Regions from separate parts of the Homo sapiens genome. Here all the other regions are linked to region 1. The links are contacts of gene promoters, found by promoter capture Hi-C in human tissues and cell types (Jung and others, 2019). All regions are on one chromosome and are shown on one strand. Each heading gives the region's core, a stretch centred on a gene start or on the middle of the fragment in contact. The rest is flanking DNA. Distances are from core to core; before and after follow the strand shown.

What was found. The method cuts DNA at HindIII sites, captures the fragments that hold promoters and counts their contacts. A contact is called where the count stands out against the background at its distance.
Region 2: a fragment that was not itself captured here is called in contact with the fragment with the promoter of KCNB1 in region 1 in 2 of the 25 tissues and cell types used here (H1 embryonic stem cells and bladder).
Region 3: a contact is called between a fragment that was not itself captured here and the fragment with the promoter of KCNB1 in region 1, in 1 of the 25 tissues and cell types used here (IMR-90 fibroblasts).

Annotation. Positions count from the first base shown.
Region 1 is chr20:49,481,074-49,483,954 of GRCh38, forward strand. It overlaps KCNB1 (potassium voltage-gated channel subfamily B member 1), which reads right to left and starts at 1,595. Exons shown (of 2, transcript NM_004975.4): 1 at 841-1,595. The coding sequence starts at 1,407. The HindIII fragment of the contact is 16,129 bases long and covers 1-2,881 here.
Region 2 is chr20:49,300,690-49,303,513 of GRCh38, forward strand. No RefSeq gene overlaps it. Among named protein-coding and RNA genes, the nearest start is that of SNORD12, 21 kb to the left of the region's middle. The HindIII fragment of the contact is 6,452 bases long and covers 1-2,824 here.
Region 3 is chr20:49,280,097-49,283,063 of GRCh38, forward strand. It overlaps ZFAS1 (ZNFX1 antisense RNA 1), which reads left to right. Exons shown (of 4, transcript NR_036658.2): 3 at 389-474. SNORD12B (small nucleolar RNA, C/D box 12B) reads left to right here and starts at 217; the gene lies at 217-319. It overlaps SNORD12 (small nucleolar RNA, C/D box 12), which reads left to right and starts at 587; the gene lies at 587-676. The HindIII fragment of the contact is 4,058 bases long and covers 1-2,967 here.

The sequences.
Region 1 (2,881 bases), core at 345-2,844:
TGCCCTGCCTTGGCTCCCACCCCAAGCCTTCCTCAGTCCCCTACAGCCCCTGCCATTACCCAGCAGCACCAAAGACTCTCTGGCCCACTCTTTGTGTTCAAACTCATTCCTGCCTCCTCCTCCTCCTCCTCCTTTATTTTTCACATTGCCTCATTTTTCTCTCCTATTTTGAAATTTACATCTTGTTCCAAGAGCTGAAACATCTTTACAAGCTGCACCAAACCATTCTGGAAATAAACTCACCAAATAAATAAGTAACCAGGGGGTGACCCCTCACCCGCAAGCATCCACAACCAACTGCATGTGTCGTGTGGGTCCACACCCACCCCTCGGGGTCCCTTCTTACTTATGTTTAAACTATCTGACAGTATCTCAATGTCCTGTAAGCATGTCTGTAAGCTGCTTTTTTCCCTTGCTGGGGCAGAGTGAGGTTATAAATATGGAGATATTAAAATCACAGGGTGATCCAATCCAGCCTAGGTCTGGGACTTCACAGGGAAGCAAACCCTACTCCACCCCAGCAAGCCACTGTTGTCTCTCTGTGCTCTCTCTCTTATTCGTCAGTGTCCATCTTCTTGCTGTGGCTTTTTATGGGTCCCTGTGAAACCTCTCCAACCAAGTAGGGGTATAACGTCTTGGATAATAAAAAGATGGAGTGACCAGTGCCACATGGGAAAAGTCTGAGGGGGTTGGTCCTCACCTCTGGGGACTCAGTCCTAGCCCCTCCCCATTACTAATCTTCATCGTTGGGAACAAAGCCAGAGTCCTCCAGCAGTGGTCCTCAATATGGGGATGCAAGCAGATCCCCCCAGACCAGCAGCCCCCAGATCCCAGACTCACCTTGGCAGCCACAGAGGAATTGGGCTTCTCCAGTAGGTCCCAGAGTTTTTTCCTCTTCTCTGCGCAGCACGTGTTATCGAACTCCTCGCCTTCCCGCTCCCGTAGGGTCTCGGCCTCACGCTTGAGCTCCTCGTTCATCTGCTCTTTCTTCTGGTGGTAGCGGGCCTGGCAGCAGGACTCCAGGTAGATCTCGTCGATGCCCCAGTAGTCGAGCTCTTGGCTGAAGCTGAGCGCGCACATCTCCTCCATCATGTGCAGTCGCCCAGTGCGGTAGAAGTTGAGGATGGAGGTGAAGGCGCCCGGGTGGCGGTCAAAGAAGTACTCGTTGTCGTCGAGGCTGTAGTCATCGCACACCTCGAGCAGCGAGTCGTGCGTGTTGCAGTCGCGGAGCTTGCCCAGCCGCGTGCGGGGCAGGCGGTCCAGGGTACGCCAGAGTACCTCGTGCGCCAGCCCCCCGACGTTGAGGCGGACCCGCCGAGAGCACGCCTTGCTGCGCACGATCTCCATGGGCTCGGGCGGCAGCGAGCTGGTGGAGCGGGAGCCATGCTTCGTCATGCCCGCCGGCATCGCTGATCCGGCCGCCCCCGCCCCCCCTGCCCCCCCAGGCCGCTGTCACTCGACGGCAAGGCCCGCTGCTGCGGGGGAGGGGGGCAGGGAGCGCTGTGGGCTGCTGGGGGTGCAGGGGGCCCCGCGGGCGCGCGTCACGGCCGTCTTCTCACCTCCATCCCGACGGCTGCGAGGCAGAAAGCGAAAGCGGACGCGGGTCAGCAAACGGGGAGCTGGGCATGCTGTCCCCCCGCCCCCCACCTCTCCACCAGGCTCCCAGCCGGCCTTGACCTTCCCCCGCGCTTAAGCGGCTCAGTGGGGTAGGACGGATGGTCGCTGTCCCTCCCGCCGGTGCTGAAGTCCGCCGCACCCCATGGATGGAGGGAGGGGCCGCCCCTCGGGGCGGGGAGAGGGCCCCAAGAGATGCCCCTGGAGCCCGGGAGGCCCCACCCTGGGCTTCTGCGGCCCAGGCGCGACCCAGCCGCCCGGGGCGCTGTCCGCCCCTTAGAGTGCTGAAACTCTCTTCATTATGGGTCTCCCGATCGAGTCCCGAACCTGGCCCCGCCATGGGGAGAGAGGGGGAGCTGCATGAAAACTTTCTTTCTTTATCTTTTTCTTTCTTTCTTCTTCTTCTTTCCTTCTTTTTTTTTTTTTTAACGAGTTCTCTTCTTTTCCTTCCCCTTCTCGAGATAATCAAGATTTTGGGGGTGGGGGAATGGCAGCGGGCTTTTTTCCAAATCTTAAAAGATTTGGGGGAATTCCGGGGGTTCCAGGTGCCCACCTGTCCGAGGTCACAACAGACGGGGTGTGCACAACAGCCCCTCTGTCCTGGAGCGACCCCTCTTCCCAAACACTGGAGCATCTCCTGAGATTGCTCCAGCGACAAGGTGAGCCGCGAGGAGGAAAAGCCCGCTCTCGCCTCTCCCTCTGAGCCCCCAACCCTACCGCAGGAGGGGCGGGCAGAGTCCTCGGGATCCGCCTGCTCCGTCCTCCCCTCGCTCCTTCCCCGCCCCCTTCTCCTCCTTCTCCTCCCCCTCCTCTTCCTTCTCCCCCTCCTCCTCCTCTTCCTCCTCCTCCTCCTCCTCCTCCTACTCCTCCTCCTCGTTCCTCTCCCGCGATGGCTTTTTATAACTCCGGGTTCTGCGCCTTTCCCCGGGCTTGGAAGGGAAGGGGTGGGGGAGGTGGGAGGCGGGGAAATGAGCTAAATTTTCTGGCCTTTTCAAAAGGTGCCATCCTCCTACCGCGCACTAGTGATTTCGGGGGGTTCCCCTGAGCACCCCCTGCATGTAGGGCTCACGCCTTAGCCCCAGAATGGGGATTGCGCGTCCCCTCAGGCCTCAGCCCTTGCCTGCCTCCCACCCCGCTCCCCTCCAGCCTGGAGCTGCGGAGCCCGAGCAGACCAACAGGCCGAGCTGCGGCAGGCAAACCCCCTGTCCGTGTCCCCATGCACCCCCACGGAAGGCCGTACGCCCCAACACTCACCCCCAGGGCGGCC
Region 2 (2,824 bases), core at 132-2,631, 180 kb before region 1:
CTCCCAAAGTGTTAGGATTACAGGTGTGAGCCACCATGTCTGGCCTCACACAGAATTTTAAAAACACATTTTAAAAGTGTATTCAAGGGTTGACATGCAATAGAATTAGCAATTTTTACTGCTTTATCAAGGACATTCCTAAGTGAAACTGGCTCTCTTCTTGTTACTGTGGGCTTGTAGGGGTGAAGAATACAGTGATTACTAATAGAATTAGGTGCCACCACTTTGATTCATGCTAAGGAGCCAGCAGCTTTGTCCTCTGTTGTTTTTGTACCATTTAACGCAAATGTCACAGGGGAATGTTAAAAGATAAAGTCTTACTATCATTATGAAAATTCTTGGCCGGGCGCGGTAGCTCACGCGTAATCCTAGCACTCTGGGAGGCCGAGGCGGGTGGATCATGAGGTCAGGAGATTGAGACGATCCTGGCCAACACGGTGAAAACCCATCTCTACTAAAAATACAGAAAATTAGGCGAGCATGGTGGCAGGCGCCTGTAGTCCCAGCTACTCAGGAGGCTGAGGCAGGAGAATGGCGTGAACCTGGGATGCGGAGCTTGCAGTGAGCCGAGATGGCGCCACTGCACTCCAGCCTGTGTGACAGAGCGAGACTCCACCTCAAAAAAAAAAAAAAGAAAATTCTTTTGACCTTGCAGCCCCCTGAAAGTGTCTTAAACACCATACTTTAAGAATCACCAATCTGTTCTATAGACTTCATTCAAATGTTGCCAATTTTCCTACTAATATCCTTGTTATGGTCTAAGATCTAACCCAAGAGCACATTTAAAAAAAATATCAACTTTTACTTTAGATTCAGGCGGTACACATGTAGGATTGTTACAAGGATATATTTCGTGGTGCTGAGGTTTGGGGTATGATTGAGCCTGTCATCCAGGTAGCGAGCAAGGTACCCAGTAAGGGGTTTTTCACCCCCTGCCCCGTCCCTCTCTTCCCCCTCAAGCCTGTCATCCAGGTAGTGAGCAAGGTACCCAGTAGGGGGTTTTTCACCCCCTGCCCCATCCCTCTCTTCCCCTTCTTGTAGTCTCTGGTGTCTAATGTTTCATCTGTATGTGTCCACGTGTACCCAATGTATAGCTCCCATGTGTATGTGAGAACATATGGTATTTGTTTTTCTGTTTCTGTGGTAATTTGCTTATGATAGTGGCCTCCAGCTGCATCCATGTTGCTGCAAAGGGCATGATTTCCTTCTTTTTTTTTTTTTTTTTTGAGACACAGTCTCGCTCTGTCGCCAGGCTGGAGTGCAGTGGGGTGATCTCGGCTTACTGCAACCTCCGCTTCCTGGGCTCAAGCGATTCTCCTGCCTCAGCCTCCCGAGTAGCTGGGATTATAGGCATGCGCCACCACACCTGACTAATTTTTGTATTTTTAGTAGAAACGGGGTTTCTTCATGTTGGTCAGGCTGGTCTCGAACTCCCAACCTCAGGTGATCCACCAACCTCAGCCTCCCAAAGTGCTGGGGTTACAGGTGTGAGCCACTGTGCCTGGGGATTTCATTTTCTTTCAGGGCTGTGTAGTATTCTGTTGTGTATATGTACCACATTTTCTTTATTCCACTGCTGATGGGCACCTAGGTTGATGCCATGTCTTTGCTATTGTGAACAGTGCTGTGATGAAAATACATGTGCATGAAGAGCTAACGTCGAAACATGTTCTATTTAGATGTCCTCTCTCCTTAGGCTCTCTCTCTCTCTTTTTGAGGCAGAGTCTCACTCTGTTGCCCAGGCTGTAGTGTGGTGGTGTGATTTCAGCTCACTGCAACTTCTGCCTCCCAGGTTCAAGCAATTCTTGTGTTTCAGCCTCCCAGACATTAAAGAGATTTACAGGCCAGGCACAGTGGCTCACACCTGTAATCCCAGCACTTTGGGAGGCCAAGGCGGGTGGATTGCTTGAGGCCAGAAGTTCGAGACCAGCCTGGCCAACTTGGTGAAAGCTCTTCTCTACGAAAAACACAGAAATTAGCCAGGTGTGGTGACACACACCTGTAATCCCAGCTACTCAGGAGGCTGAGGAATGAGAATCACTTGAACCTGGGAGGCAGAGGTTGCAGTGAGCTGAGATCGCACCATTGCACTCCAGCCTGGGGCAACAAAGCAAGACCGTGTCTCAAAAAAAAGGGATGGGAAAGAAAATTGAAAATTACTAGAGGGTTACTTTGATTACAGTATTCAGGGAAGGCCTCTCTGAGGATGTGACATGTGAGCCAAGATCTGAAGGATGAATAGGAGCTGGGCACAAGAAAATCTGAAAGGGAAGAGCATTCTGGGAGCGGAGACAGAAAGTGCAAAGGCTCAGAGATGAGAATGAACTCGGCAACACTACACAGAATTCTGTCCAACATTCTTCAGCTGCTGAAAAACTTGTTCATGATAAACTTGGGACTCAGACACATATAACAGACATCAGTTAAACACTTATCAGAGCTGGAGTCATGTTAAAGTAGAATAAAAATGTCAAACTCCAGACATTTCCATAAACACTCAACATGCTTCATTTGCTTAGGAGGAATTTTCCTCATCTCTAAATCATGGGGTTCCAGTTTCCCAAACTCTCTGCCAGGAAGGGAAATTGAGCTGGAAAGTGAACCATCAGAGAAAATTAAGCACCCGGCTCCACCCTGAGCTTTATCATTTATCAGTGGAGTCAGCTAGACATTTGGCAGAAAACGGTGAAAATAACATTTGCCTGTGTGTCTAATGGTTCCATATGCGTTTTGGGTTGGGTGGCATCCAGAAGCAGCTGGGAAAATTCCAGTTGTATCAGGCATTCATCTCTTCTCTCTGTGGCTAGCCACTCAGGAAGTCACA
Region 3 (2,967 bases), core at 309-2,808, 200 kb before region 1:
TTCCTCAACTCTTCCAGCCACACTGGCTTCTATCATGGGCCTGTACTCAGAGTGTAAGCACTGAAGACAGGGGTGTTTGGTTTGGCTACCAAGTTATTGCCAGCTACAGGATACAACACAGAAGTGCTCAAACACCGAATGCAAATTTGCAAATATGAAGCATACCAACCAAATCTTACTCCTCATGGCTTTCAAATCTTACTCCTCACTCAAGAACTTCCTGCTGGCATATATGATGACTTAGCTTTTTTCCCCGACAGATCGACTATGTTGATCTAACTTTTCTAAGCCAGTTTCTGTCTGATATGCCAGCTTGAGCAGCTCCTTTGTCCCAGCTCCCCTGGGCATCTAGCTGATGGGAGCTCATTTTTCTGTTTTTTCATTTCAGGTTTATTGTTGGCCAAAACCAGGCTTTGATTGAACCAGGATGAATGCGGGTGTTGGAAGTAGAATATATATATACATATAAAATTGGTAAGTGGTGCCAACACGTCTTCCCTGGCTGAGTAGACACAGGCTCTGGAGGGGGTAGTAGCTGCTTTTCAGTGTGGGTTTGTCACCCTACTTCTTGTACGACTCAAATGTGGCCTTTGCAGCTGATGATACAGCTTCTTTCCCCATCAGATCGACCCTGTTGATCTCTACACTATTGGCCAGTTTTGTCTGATGCATTGGCCCCAGTAATAACTCCTATCTTTGTTTTCTGCTTATCTTTATCAGAGACTATTGCTTGTTCATGGGAACTGGGCTTTCTCTATTTTTTCCAGCATTCAGATGGCTTCTTTTGACCTGTTAACTTTCTATAGGTTGGGAGCCACGTGTACCAGTGTGTGTTGATCTTGGCTTGATTCAGTCTGCCTTGTAACAGGTGAGGTTTCTGCTTTCTATCTGCCAAACCCCACCGCAAAATTTGTCCAACTGGGCCTAACCTCAGGACCCATTTCCAAGTTGGGTATAAAACTGGGAGAATAAGTCATTAGGACTGACATTGGCCTGTTGGTATTACTAGGTCTTTGTTGGAAATAAGAGCTTGGAGTTCCAAAGAAAACGAGCACTTGAACAAAAGATTTCTCAGCAAGGCAAATTTACTTCTGCCGTAGGGTGCTGCTGCTGGCATTCCTGGCAAGAGCACACCTAACAAAAGAGAGAAAGGGTTTTTATTCCTAACAAGTAGTCCCTGCTTCTGTGTCCTATCCCCATTGGCTGGAGTCGACAGCGCAATCTAAACTAGTCCTGATTGGCTATTTTAAACAGGAGGCATGTGGGTTACAGCTGTGGGAAGGGCAGGAAACTTGTTTACAGAGCTGGTTGCTAGGAGTGAGGGGGACTTTTCCAAATAGGGAACAGGTTACAGGTTGAGATTGGCCGGAGAAGTTGTTTATAGAACGGGTAACTCGGAGCAGGAAGGTATGAGGAAGTTGACCTTAAGAACAAAGAACAAGGAAGTTAAAACTTTGAAGAGAAATCCATTGTATCTAACGATTTCCCCCTTTTGATTTTTATAATTATTTCTCTTCAGACTTGTTTTAGCGTGTCTTGATTTTGTTCCTCTTGGTCCTCTGAAATTAGAAGCTTAACTGAATGATGCGAGGGAGGATTGAGGAAGATTTTGGTGGGTGAGAGCTGTTAAAATAAGCTTTTGTATTAATCCTCAGATACAGGGTATGATACAGCATCCTACAAGAATGAGCAAACCTATTCTGATGGCAGGAGATTGAGGACGTAAGTCCTTTCCATTTGCGGAACTATTTTTCCATTAAAATCGTGAAGGGGTCATTTATTCCAGAATTTCTAGCTAGCTCATTGGATAAAGCAGTAAGTCCTTGGGCCTTTGTTATGGTTCCATCGGGAGCAGTATTATTAGGGATGAAAGTACAACACTGGGTTCCAATCATGACACAAACTACACCTTTCTCCGCTAGTATCATGTCTAATGCTATTGTATTTTCTCAGGCCGTTTGACTGGTGGGCCCTAATTGTTAAACTGTTCCCTTAATAGCATCCCTAGTATAATTAATGAATCGTTGCTGGGTTACATTTTTTGTGTTTTTTTTGAGATGGAGTCTCACTCTGTCGCCCAGGCTGGAGTGCAATGGTGCAATGGTTCACTGCAACTTCCACCTCCTGGGTTCAACCTACTCTCCTTCAGCCTCCTGAGTAGCTGGGGGCTGTCACCATGTTGGTCAGGCTGGTCTCAAACTCCTGATCTTGTGATCCACCCGCCTCAGCCTCCTAACATGCTGGGATTACAGGCGTGTGCCACCACTCCCGGCCCAATCTACATTTTTATTTAGAGTTGACCACCAGAACAACATGGATTCAAACTTGCAGCTATTTGATTTTGGGCCTTAAATCTATCTGGCACTCCTCGTGGGATTCCAATGGCATCTATATAAACATGAGAGTCACGAGGGACATCCATTGTTTTATGATGTTCTGTTTTTATGTATGTTTTCTGGATGAAATACCAGGGTGAAAGGGAGATAGCCAATTGGATTAGAGCTCAAGTGCCACGCCAAGTAACTTGGCAGAGTATTCAGTAATGGTCCACCACAACACCACCATACGTTTGCTTGGGGATGAATAAGGGACGACTGATTGGTAAGCTCCTGGAAGGGCTTAAGCTCACTGCATCTCGTTAGGTCTCCAAGCAAATTCAAGTTCTCCCCCTGTGAGAGACACGAGGTAAAATTGGCATTGGAAGACGGATGCTTGATGGCCCTCGGGGGCTGACCCGCAGGGTGTCGGACTTCAGGGGACTTCAGGAAACAGCAGCGAGAGAGTTTGGCATAGCTTATTGCCCCAGGTTGTGGGGTCTTGGAAGAGAGCTGCCATACAACTTAATGCCTGATCGGCTGGAGGACGATCCGAGTGGAAAGGGAACAATCTGGGGCTCTGGCTTACCACGTGCGTAAGCATAACAATCGCTTTGTTTAGCGAGCGGACAGAATGTTTAATCCATTCCAG